3 separate regions of the Homo sapiens genome follow, and all the other regions are linked to region 2. The links are contacts of gene promoters, found by promoter capture Hi-C in human tissues and cell types (Jung and others, 2019). All regions are on one chromosome and are shown on one strand. Each heading gives the region's core, a stretch centred on a gene start or on the middle of the fragment in contact. The rest is flanking DNA. Distances are from core to core; before and after follow the strand shown. Region 1 overlaps F13A1 (coagulation factor XIII A chain). Region 2 holds the start of F13A1 (coagulation factor XIII A chain). Region 3 holds the start of LOC124901253 (a long non-coding RNA gene).

Evidence for each region. The method cuts DNA at HindIII sites, captures the fragments that hold promoters and counts their contacts. A contact is called where the count stands out against the background at its distance.
Region 1: a fragment that was not itself captured here is called in contact with the fragment with the promoter of F13A1 in region 2 in 2 of the 25 tissues and cell types used here (aorta and stomach).
Region 3: a contact is called between a fragment that was not itself captured here and the fragment with the promoter of F13A1 in region 2, in 1 of the 25 tissues and cell types used here (pancreas).

What each region holds. Positions count from the first base shown.
Region 1 is chr6:6,269,299-6,273,292 of GRCh38, forward strand. All of the region lies in intron 3 of F13A1 (coagulation factor XIII A chain), which reads right to left. Among named protein-coding and RNA genes, the nearest start is that of F13A1, 49 kb to the right of the region's middle. The HindIII fragment of the contact is 4,937 bases long and covers 1-3,912 here.
Region 2 is chr6:6,318,004-6,322,020 of GRCh38, forward strand. It overlaps F13A1 (coagulation factor XIII A chain), which reads right to left and starts at 2,659. Exons shown (of 15, transcript NM_000129.4): 1 at 2,584-2,659; 2 at 532-679. The coding sequence starts at 661. All of the region lies in intron 1 of LOC124901253 (a long non-coding RNA gene), which reads left to right. The HindIII fragment of the contact is 8,313 bases long and covers 1-4,017 here.
Region 3 is chr6:6,285,189-6,289,013 of GRCh38, forward strand. All of the region lies in intron 3 of F13A1 (coagulation factor XIII A chain), which reads right to left. It overlaps LOC124901253 (a long non-coding RNA gene), which reads left to right and starts at 699. Exons shown (of 2, transcript XR_007059428.1): 1 at 699-752. The HindIII fragment of the contact is 5,107 bases long and covers 1-3,825 here.

The DNA.
Region 1 (3,994 bases), core at 194-2,693, 50 kb before region 2:
ATTACTTCCCTGTTGTCCTGGGCTTTCTGATTCCTCTAAGTGATCCTTCTCTGCTCCATCTGTGGGAAATTAGGATGGGTTTACCAATTGCCAACAAACCTATCAAAGCCCAAATCTATTTCAAAGGCCAATTCATCCCAAACTAAAAAACCTTGAGCTGACTGATTTTTCCATCAGGAGAACTTGTAGAAGTAAAAAAAGAAAAAAAAAAGGGTTGCCATTTATTAGTAACCAAAAGCCTTAATAATTCCAGAATCATCATGGAGTCACCTGAAACCTCCCATTCAATCATAATTTCTGATTTTCTGAGTTGTTAATGATCAATGTAATCTCCATTCATCCTTTAGAGCAATGGTTAGAAAACTATAGTCTGCGGGCCAAATGTAGCTTACCTACTGTTTTTTTTTTTGTTTGTTTTATTTTGTTTTGTTTTGAGATGGAGTCTTGCACTGTTGCCCAGGCTGGAGTGCAGTGGTGCAATCTTGGCTCACTGCAAGCTCTGCCTCCTGGGTTCATGCCATTCTCCTGCCTCAGCCTCCCTAGTAGCTGGGATTACAGGCGCCCACCATCACGCCCGGCTAATTTTTGTATTTTTAGTAGAGACGGGGTTTCACCTTGTTAGCCAGGATGGTCTTGATCTCCTGACCTCATGATCTGCCCGCCTAGGCCTCCCAAAGTGCTGGGATTACAGGCATGAGCCACTGCGCCCAGCCTACCTACTGTTTATATAAAGTTTAATTGGAACACAGTTATGTTGATTTGCTTGTGTATTATTGTGCTACAATACAACCCTACTCTTGTAAGAGCAGAGTTGAGTAGTTGTGACAGAGTCCCTATGGTCTGCAACGCCTAACACAGTAGCTGGCCCTTACAGTAAACAATTGCCAACATCTGCCTTAGAGGATTTCACATTTTATTTATTTAAGGAGCGATTTATTACAGACTCTTGAAGTCTAACACTTGAGCCTAAGAAGAAAATACCATCACCTAGCTTCTCCTTCCAAGGAGAAATATGTTTCTAAACTATTCGCAAACATCTGTACTACTAGTAGGTCAACCTTTAGTTTCCTTAAAGTCGCCTAAATTCCCCACAGTCTCAGGGGGTGTTGAAAACATAGGAAGTTTGTAGCTTTTTATTGATTTTATGATTCATGGCTAAAATATTCAATTTTAAGATTGCAAAAGTTGTTTAGAGTTGCCAAGGCAGTTCACATAGTGATGCAAATAAAGTGACAGGAAATAAGTTTTATTTCTTGGGGTCCTTACAAAACCTCTGTGAGGAAATTTTTACAGATGGGAAACTGAGGCTTGGTGAGGGCGTCATGTGTGCACATCACATAGCTAGGCAGAAGTGGAGACAGAACTGGGGACAGGGAAGCCTGTTCTCTTTGCTCCATGTCATGCTTCCTCTGTGGAGGAAGGTGGAGAATGGCAAAAGGGATCTAGGGAGATGAAAGGAGACAAGAGAAGAATAAAACTGGAAAGTCCAAAGGAATATGAGGAAAAGGGACATTGAGAAAATATGCTGCCGTGGATAAGAGTTGTGTGAGCCAGAAATGTGGATCAAAGGAGGTAACAACTGAGTGAGTGAAGAGAAGGAAGACCAGGTGGAGAGAACCTGCATGAGGGTCTCTCTGGGCCAACTCATTTTTTTGTGATTTGCATTGGGAAGACTTCCAAAGTAATGTCAGACACCAAAGGGTGAAGGCTGAGCAATCCTGCTGATACGCTGATGCCACGTGGCCCGGGAACAGGTTATGGAAGCGTTATCAGGGACAGGGAGTGGTGAGATTAATTCCAAAGGAAGGAAAAAGAATCCTGATTGGCAGGCTTTTCATATTCCTGTATGGGAAAGCTGGTTAGGAATGTGGAACCTGATGTGCCAATAGAACCTCAGGGACTGCTCTATTACACCCATGTTTAATTCTGAATGTAATGATTTCAGTGACAGCACTGGGGAAGTACTCTCCATGATTGAATTGTGAGTGAGGAAGTTGTGACAGAGTAGTATTTCATTTCACTAAATAGCCCTTCTCAGCCCCAGGAGTCGGCATGGTTACGAGACCACAATCCAGCTACCCTGGGAAAACCCATCCATCAACATCCATGACTGCCCATCAGCTATCCTTGGCCCAATCTGGATGGAAAACATGGCTCCATACAGGGAACCTCCATGCACGTGTTTGCCTAGAGTATATAATGCCTGGATAGATGTGTTTTTCTCCCCCAAATCATGCAACTTTGCGTTAAAAACATCAGGGCAAGAAAAAGACATCGGGAAAGACAGCATCCAAGAAAGGAATCCCGTTTTGTTTTTAATAATTGCAGCCTTTGAAATTGGACTACTAAACATGAGGAAATATTATAATTACCAATTGCATTTTTTCACACTTATCAAAAACTAGTGCCATCTTCCCAAGTGATCTAGAAATTAACATATGCTCTTAGTTTCAGTGCTTGCTTCCATTTGTGAATTATTATTGAGGCCACAAAACTAATGTTTTTAAGGCAAAAGCCGCTTGGACCATATGCCTATATTCGAATGTCTCATTGTCCCTTTACTGAGGGCCTCACTCTCCTTACACAGACCTACCTTAATCCCCCCAGCTGGGATGTAGGAGGAAGAAGATGAAAATCTTTAATTCCATTTGTGATGTTACTCTTTTCCAACCTTAGCTACCTAGGCTTGATTGAGCTTTGTGCACAGTTTCTTGATATTAGTATTCTTCACAAGATAGGAAAGAGAAATCTAGCCACAGCTCAAATTCAGTGCTATGTGACCCTGGGGAAAATGTCCTCTCAACCTTTCAATGCATTCCACAGACCAGAGAGCCCACTGCACGCAAAGCCCTGCATTGGTAGTGCCCACTAGAAGAATTCATTGCCTTTTAAAAAATTAATCTTTTGGGTTAGTTGATGGCTTTGAAATATTTTTACATTAAAAATACAATGTCCTAGGTGGTGATTAGGTTCCCAGGTAGTCTAGAAAGGACATCAAATAGCACATGGTATGGTCAGTATGGTTGAATATTGTTCCTAATAGAACTGTTCTGACTCCACCTCTCTCATGCCTAGGACCTGGAAGAACATACTTGCCATCAAGGAGGGTTGGTATCAGTGACTGAGTAGACACATCTATCAATCACTGCTCCCTCTCGTGCTCCAAAATAAAGAAGCTGATAACTCAGGACACTCCCACTTCTCTCCTCTTTTGGGCATGTCATCTGTAAGTCCAGTGGCTGCAGTCTGTGCCCCTCATATGCTATACTTAGTAATAAGAAGACTTCTGGCCATATCGTTAGGGAAACGAACGTAGGAGAGCCAGGGTCACAACCTTTTTAAATCAACTGCATCTGAAAACTAGCAAGGCACTTTCCTTGCCAGTCAAAACCCATGGTCCTAAGATGTTGACAGCTAAGGAAACAACTTAGTAATGCCTGCAAGGACAAACTCCTACAACAACAGAAAGTCCAGATGTCCCAATACCCATAATGATATATACTTTCAAGAGAATTACAGTTATGCTTTGATATACTCACACACTAAAATGTCAAGGATAGTTTTCTTTAAATCAATAGAATAATAAATTTTGTCATGCTGTCATCCTACCCACACAAAAGCACAGCTTTGTTTAGTCTTTACATAGACAAGACTCCTATGTAAGAAAAGCTTAAAACAATGACAGCGCATTCCTCCACTTGCTTTCTGAGGATACCCTACTTTGTAATGGAGCAGCTTTTAATAAACTATCTCTTCTCACTGCTCTCTGTGACTCACCCTGAATTCCTTCCTGCATGAGATCCAAGAACACTCTCTTGGGGTCTGCATCGAGACCCCTTTTCCTATAACAATTATTTGCCAGAAAAGCCCAAACAAACATTTTTCTCCTTATTCACTTAGATATCTATTCCGCTTGTTAAACTGAACTGAAGACATTGTCTAATATGTCTGTATAGCTCCCATAGAATGTCACAGTGTTTTGTACCCAGTCGGT
Region 2 (4,017 bases), core at 1,409-3,908:
CCAGCTCACCAGGCTGCTCTGGAGAGAAATAGAGGGCTTCTATCTCTATTACTGTCAGAGTCTGGCACTTCTCCCCGGCTCTGAAATTCACAGCAATGGATGGAGGAGGGAGGAGGGAGAAGGAAGGAGGTGCAAGCCAGACAATCAAAACAGCCACAATATTTTGGAAGTGGAATATTCCAGCTAGAGAAAATTCTCTAAAGCATTGAGCAGTAGGGCTGGAAGAGGCCCTAGCTAATCCAGCACTCTGGTTTTGTAGAGGAAATAGTTGAGAGGCAGAAAGACAAAGCAACTTCTCTGAGGTTACAAGGTCAGTAAGGGGCAGAACTGGGACAAGGCTCTGGGTCTTCGGTGCTTTCACCACTTAAAAGAAAGCTTTTGCTTTCTTCCTTTATAAAACCAGAGATTGGCAGGGGGCTTCCTTTTGTGGGAACCCCAGTGGAGACAGAGGATGTTTACCTGCAGGGAAGAGGGGCCAGGGCCCGGCTGTGCCTGGACCCAGAGTGGTGGGGAAGGGGGGTATGCTCATACCTTGCAGGTTGACGCCCCGGGGCACCACGCCCTGAAGCTCCACTGTGGGCAGGTCATCTTCCGCTGCATTAGAGTTATTGGGTGGAACTGCTCTTCTGCCTCCAAAGGCGGTCCTGGAAGTTTCTGACATTTTTGACTTTACAAGGTCCTTCAGAAAAAAAAAAAAAAGAAGACAACAGAAAAGGCATGTAAAGTGAGTAACATTTGAGACAAGGATTCCAAAATAGAGAAACAGATATATCTGTGTGTGATAGCACTTGAGCAACACATTTTGCCGTTTGCATAAATAAAAACTGAGAAGTGGCAGCAAGGATTAGTCTAATGATGGAATACAGTTCCCCAAGGATCTTGGGGAGATTTTTGTATGTGTCAAAACATATGGAAAGCAGAAGAAAAGGGGCTTATTCAAAGAAATTTAAAAATTAAAAGATTTTTGGAGACCCAGATTCCCCCACCCTCCATAATCCTACAGCAGCATCTTCGCAAGAAATGTTTCCTGTTATATGCATGTGCTGTATCTATGTTCATTTCATACAGATTTATGAGATTATAAGTCACTTTTAAGAATAAACGCACACAACCATGTCCAGACAAATGTTGTCTTCTAAAGCGTTTACATTTGCAATTTAATTCAACCAATATTTATTGAGGGCCTATGACATGCCAGGCTGTGATCTAGGTACATGGGATACATCAGAGAACAAAACAGAATGTTTGCTCTGATAGATTATAGTCTGATAGGGTTAGGGTGGAGCCCAAGAAGAGCCATAAGTAAATCCACTTAGGGGTGAGGAGGTAGGAACTGCTTTGGAAATTGAGCCACATGGAGGAGGATAAGGAGGTGGAGAGGTTGGGCATGCAATTTTCAATAGGGCTATCAATAGGCTTAAGAAGTCAGGGTTGCCAACATTTCCCATTCCCCAAGCCTGCTTCCCCTTCCCTTGGAGCTTGTGCAGGCACTGAGCCAGTTTAAACAACACACACCTGACGGTCAGTGCCCAGTAAGTACTTGTTGACCAAATGACCAAATGAAGGGGGACTTTGTTTCTGGGCCCAGTGAAGGTTCCCCCTTGATCCCCTGGATTACCCAGTCATGACTCCTGGAGACTTGGCTATTTTCAAAAACCAGGCACACCCCCAAGAGGTGAAGAGTCCCCATTATAGAGGCCACCAGAGTAGAGAGATGGTTCCAGAGACATGTGGAGCACTAACAACATGCTGGAGAAAAGACAACCACGCCTAAGGTGTCTGGTCTGAGAAGGAGACAGGAGTGTTTGGATGCATAAGGTGTGAATGGGTATCCATAAGTATAGATAAATATATTTACAGTCATTGGTGAGCTGACGGGGGAAGGGAGGGAGAAGAGCGAAAAAGGGTTAATGATAGGGAGAAGGCTGCGAGAGCCATCCTCTAGTGAGAAATACCGAAGGTAGGCTGCGGCATTGCCAGGGGTGCAGAACAGTGTGGCGCGCTGTCGGGAGACACAGTGCTAAGGGGGAGAAGGGGGGAGCCCCAGGTGCACGCCTGGCTGGGTGAGTGCGGCGGGCAGGAGCCCTCGCTTCTGGGCGGGTCTAAGGAGGAGAAGTGGCTCGAGTTCAGCTCCAAATTGGGACGGAGGCAGGCGATGCGCAGGAGTGGGGAGGCGCGCAGGAGTGGGGAGCCAAGCCGGCGGGGTTCCAGTCTAGCAGGCTGTTCTCACTTGGCCCCACTCCCTCCACCTTTTGTGTTCCAGCTCCATAATCTGCTCCCTGAGGAAAGGGGGCTCGTCCCTTGGGGAAGCACCTCCAACTCCCCCATCCCCATTTGGTGGCATTCTAAGCAAGCAACGGCTTCGGGAGAGCTGCCTCGAGAGCCTGAGAGAAGTCCCGCTTAGAAGCTGGGCTGGGCAGGTGCGGAGTTGGGGGCGGGAAGCCAGGATTGGGCAAGTGGAGCTGCCTGTGACCGGCGCCACAGGGCCCAGAGCAAGCCGCTTGCTGGTTCAACCAGGAAACCGAGGTGCAGAAGGTGGACGCAGCGGGCCCTGGCTCATAGGGTGCAGGGTCGGTGGCTTACCTGCAGGCGCTCCCCTCCAGAGGTGCCCTCGCGTGGGCTTGCTCTGTGCGCCTCGGGGACTTCCTCAAACGGACTCGGGAAAGACAAGACAGTTGGCTCTTAAATAACTTCCTAAGAGGAGCCCTCACCCTCCTCCCCTGTCCCACAGGGTTTTCTCCTCCCCCTTCTCCACAGCTGGAGCCAGTAGGGGAGCTCAGAGGATTTTCTATTTACTTCATCTGGCCTGTTATCCCGGCAGGTGCGCCCTTCTCTCCCACTTGCCCCTCTGACTCCCAATTTCCCATTCCCACTTCTCCTCCCCATCCCCATCCCTAGATCTGCCCTCCCCACCGCAACCAGTTGCTGGGAGTACCAGGCAAGGGGCCCTGCAGTGCCAGGAAGTCCCCACCCGTCCCCTTTGGTCAGAGGGTCTGGGAGGGTTTCCTTTACAAAGGAATGCTTTTGCCTGGCAGGTCAGCTGCTACTGTGGCTTGGCAGGAGGGGGGTCTGCCCTCCCACAGACAGGTCACACAGACAGTTGTGACCATGCATGCAGTGAGAGCAACGTGTCCCTCCTGTGCAAATAAGGCATGGTCTGCATTCCTGAATCATCCCAGAGCCACAGCCACCGCCTAACCACAAGACTTCCTGCAGGAATGGGATGCCTAGCCCCAAGGAAGATGAGTAAACATCTTTAATAATGCCATGCAGATTAGAAAATAACACTTGGTTTTCTCTGAAAATCATTTTAGTGCATGTTCAAAAATTAGAAAATTTTCCCCCTAAAATTTTAATTTTTTTCTTTTACTCTTTCTTTCTTTCTTTCTTTCATCTTTCTATCTTTCAGATGAAGTCTTGCTCTGTTGCAAAGGCTGGAGTGCAACCTCCACCTCCCGGGTTCAAGTGATTCTTCTGCCTCAGCCTCCCAAGTAGCTGGAACTACAGGTGCATGCCACCATGCCCGCCTAATTTTTGTATTTTTAGTAGAGATGGGGCTTTACCATGTTGGCCAGGCTGGTCTCGAACTTCTGACCTCAGGTGATCCACCCTCCTTGGCTTCCCAAAGTGTTGGGATTACAGGCGTGAGCCACCGCACCCAGTCAAACATGGCTATTTCTAACCTTCTTTACTGTCTTCAAATTTCTGACCCTGCCACTCAATCTCCCAATGTTATAAAGAAGAAAAAAAAAGATGCCATTGGTTAGAAATTCTCTCAATTTTCTGCTACCAATCTATGAACCTGCCTGCAACCTTATCTATCTTTTCCTCTTTCTTCTTGTTACTGAAGTTGGAAAGGTCCCTCCTCCCTCTGCATCTCCAAACCAGGCTTCTGCGTTGCCTTGTTCTCCGGGGCTTTGCTGTGACTCTTACGTACTCTTCCTCTTGCAGCTTCAAGCTCCTGCTTGCTAATAGTGGGTCTTCTCAGCATTCATGCAATTTCAGGTCTCTTCAGTA
Region 3 (3,825 bases), core at 768-3,267, 33 kb before region 2:
CAGTGAGCTGAGATCACGCCACTGCACTCCGGCATGGGCACCAGAGCGAGACTCCAACTCAAAAAGAAAAAAGACAGAGATGGGGTCTTTCATTCCTCTTAAACCCCCTCTGGGGTGTCACAAACTGCTGGACACAGCAGAGGTTTCTGCATCACAAATTCACTGAACCAGACATGGGACAAGATGTTATAGAGATTTGTAAACAGAATTGGAAAGGAAATAGACAAGGAAGTTGAAGAAGCCAAAGCAAAACCTCCAACAGTGCAGAGAAGGAGCATCCCAATGGCTAAGCTAGGCTTTAGCCAGAGATGGGCAGCACATTTAGCACATCCAGCCCCAGCTTCCTGAAGGCTAAAGAAATGCTCATGAACAGACACAAAAACGGTCAGACCCACCTCCCAAGGGTAACTCCCATTACTTCTCTAACAAATGAGTAAATACCTATGCTACAGTAGGTACCTAGTCAGGCATGAGTAGGGGAGGAGAGGGCTTCCCCCACTACGCACACACCAGGAATGGCAGGCGACCATCAGGTGACGGTCATTGTTAAACTGTCCTTCTAAAATAATAATTGGTCCCAGCCAGTGCTAGGGAAGGGCAGTCTCCCAATAAACAGAAATACCTGAAACTGGTGATCAGCAGCTTCCCAATAAAACCTCAGCAGTTGGGTGAGTGGGCTCAGGCATGCGCACTAAGAGCCAAAATGGCGGAATTTAACCAGTATGTGGCCTTCCTCCAGGGACACTCAACTGGTAAGGAAAAAATGCATCAAGTGGTCACGAGTACAACACTAGTAAACGCACTGTGCATGCTCCGCTTCTAAGCGCTAGCAGGCCACTGCACACGCAGACACACCACTTAAGGGAAGAATCACAGGAGTAGGGACGCAAGACCCCAGAAGTATGCCAACAGGTAAAACCTGAAGTCAGTCAGGTGCGGTGGCTCATGCCTGTCATCTCAGCACTTTCAGATGGATTATTTGAGGTAAGGAGTTTGAGACCAGCCTGGTCAACATGGTGAAACCTCATCTCCATTAAAAATACAAAAATTAGCCGTGTGTTGTGGCAAGTGCCTGTAATCCCAGCTACTGGAGAGGCTGAGGCAGGAGAATCACTTGAACCTGGGAAGTGGAGGTTGCAGTAAGCTGAGATCGCGCCACTTCTCTCCAGCCTGGGTGACAGAGCAAGAGTCTGTCTCAAAAAAACGAACAAAAACCCTAAGTCAAAGTCAAACTGTACACTTGTCTTTCAAGTTACCCACTTGGCCCTTTTCCAAGTGTATTTTCTTTCCTTTCATTCCTGTTCTAAAGCTTTTGAATAAACTTTCACTCCTGCTCTAAAACTTGCCCCAGTCTCTCCTGCCTTATGAGGAGGCAAGAATTGAGGCTGCTGTAGATCCATGTGGATTCACTGCTGCTAACATACTTTGGTGCTGTGGGACTCCAGTACATTTGCTGCCACTAACACCTAGACGTGCATCCACAGGACAGTGTGTATGTATGCATGAGAGACAGACAGAGAGGAAGAGCAAGACAGAAACAGACAGGCCGGGATGAAAGTAATAGAAATCTTAAGAAAGAAGAGAAAAGATCAGAAAAGAGGCCAAGATACTGAGAAGAAAGAGGGTGAAGAGGGTAGCAAGAGAGAGGTACAGCTATTTATAGCCTGTCTTATGGTTGTGTAATACCTGTCTGGCTCTGGCTGCTGTTATAGTAGCATTTTATGAAGGTTATCCTTCCTTAAGGAATACCATAAGAATTTAGCTTTCCTACATAGTTGCAATATTGAAAATAAGGCTGGTAATTGGGTCATCTTATTAGGAAGGAACTATCACGAAGCAGTTCAAAGAGCTTCCAGTTATTCCCTCATTAATCCTTACAACATGCTTCTGGAGTAACTGGAGGGCAAAGATGAAGAATATTTAGTCCATTTGGATCCTTTCTTTAGTGGGCTGTAATTCCACTTGCATGCTCTCTTTTTAGATTAGAGACTCAAGAGCAAGTTATCGCAGTGGGCACATTTGTTTTCATTAAATATTTTCCCCCACCTTTTTCACCTCTTGCTTCATATGCTGCAAGAATGTCTTAGAATTTATGTGGAAAAGCCAGGGAATGCCCACAGTCCGTCCTCCCTGAGTTCAGACCAGCGCTTTCTGGTGGAGTACAGTTTCAATTATGTGGGTGCAAATGAGCCACGTTTATGAATTCTTGTAAGTGAAAGAGGTCATCATAAGATACAAGTGTGAAGACAGAGAGAAACAGACATAGGAGCAAGGGTGAAGGCAAATTAGGGGAATAGGAAAGAGGGGAGAAAGCACAGGAGGCAGTCAGGGAGGAAGCGTTTGTGGATGTTCTGAGTGTTCTCATTCCGATACCCATGGCCCTTCATAAGTGCTCTGTGTGGCACCCTTAATGTGACAAAGACATCAGCGACTCTATTACCCTAGGGACCATAAGCTTCACTGGGAAACTCCAGCTCTGCAGACATGATGTGGGTGACAGGGCAGGGCTGAGGAAGCACATGGTAAGGTCTCTGGCACCAAAATATGGATGGCAATCCCACCTACTTTGAGATTAAACTGTTTCTGTCACTTCAGCTAGAACTATGGGCAAATAATTCCAGGCAGAACTTGGCCTGTGGATTGTCAGAGCCCCTATGTGACTAATGAAGCTGTCAGAATGGATGTAACAAGGAGACTGGGTATTTCTGTTGGGAGGTTCAGTGATGGTTGTCTTTGCCACCAGGAGACAAAAGACATGAGAGCAATGCCCTCCTATTTGCTTTTGGAAGCATTTTCTTTGTGCGTGTGTAGATGTTTTTTAAAAAATAGACAATCACTTATGGGGAATCTATTGGGATACAATGTGAAGTTTTGATCTATGTATACATTGTAGAAAGATTCAATCAGCTAATTCACATGTTTATTACCTTACATAGTTACCTTTCTTTTCTATGTACATGGAAAAAAGAAAGGTAACTGTGGTGAAGACATTAAAAATCTATTCTTTTAGCAATTTTGAAATATACAATACATTATTTTAAACTGTGGTCACCAAGCCATGCAGTAGATCACTAAAACTTATTCTTTCAGTCTAACTGAGACTTTGTACCCATTGATCAACATCTTCTTTTTCCTCATTCCTTGCCCCCAAGCCCCAGCCTCTGGTAAACAACTTTCTACTGTGTTTCTGAGATTGACTTTTTCAGATTCCACATATAAGTGAGATCATACAGTATTCATCTTTCTGTGCCTGGCTTATTTCAGTTAGCATAGTGCTCTCCAGTTCTACCCTTGTTGAGAATGGCAGAATTTTCCTTCTTCTAAGGGCTGTATAGTACTCCATTGTGTCTATATACCACATTTTCTTTATCCATTGGTTAGGTTGCTTTCATATCTTGGTTATTGTGAGTGATGCTGAAATGAACATGAGACTACATACATCTTTTCAACATCCTGATTTCAATTTTCTTTAGATACATACCCAGAAGTGGGATTGCTGAATCACGTTAGTTCTATTGCTAGTTTTGTGAGGAACTGCCACACGACTTTCCAAAACAGCTGCCTTAATTTACATTCCCACTAATAGTGTATAGGGTTCTCTATTCCCTGCATTCTTGCCAAGGCTTGTTATCATTCTCTTTGGTAGTAACCATTCTAACAGGTATGAGGTGGCACCTCATTGTGGTTTTAATTTGCGTTTCCCTGATGATTAGAGGTGTTGAGCATTCTTCCATAAGCCAGTTGGCCATTTTGGTGTCTTCTTTTGAGAAATGTTTGCTCAGATCCTTTGCCCACAACCTGGGGTAAATCACTTAATCCCTGTGA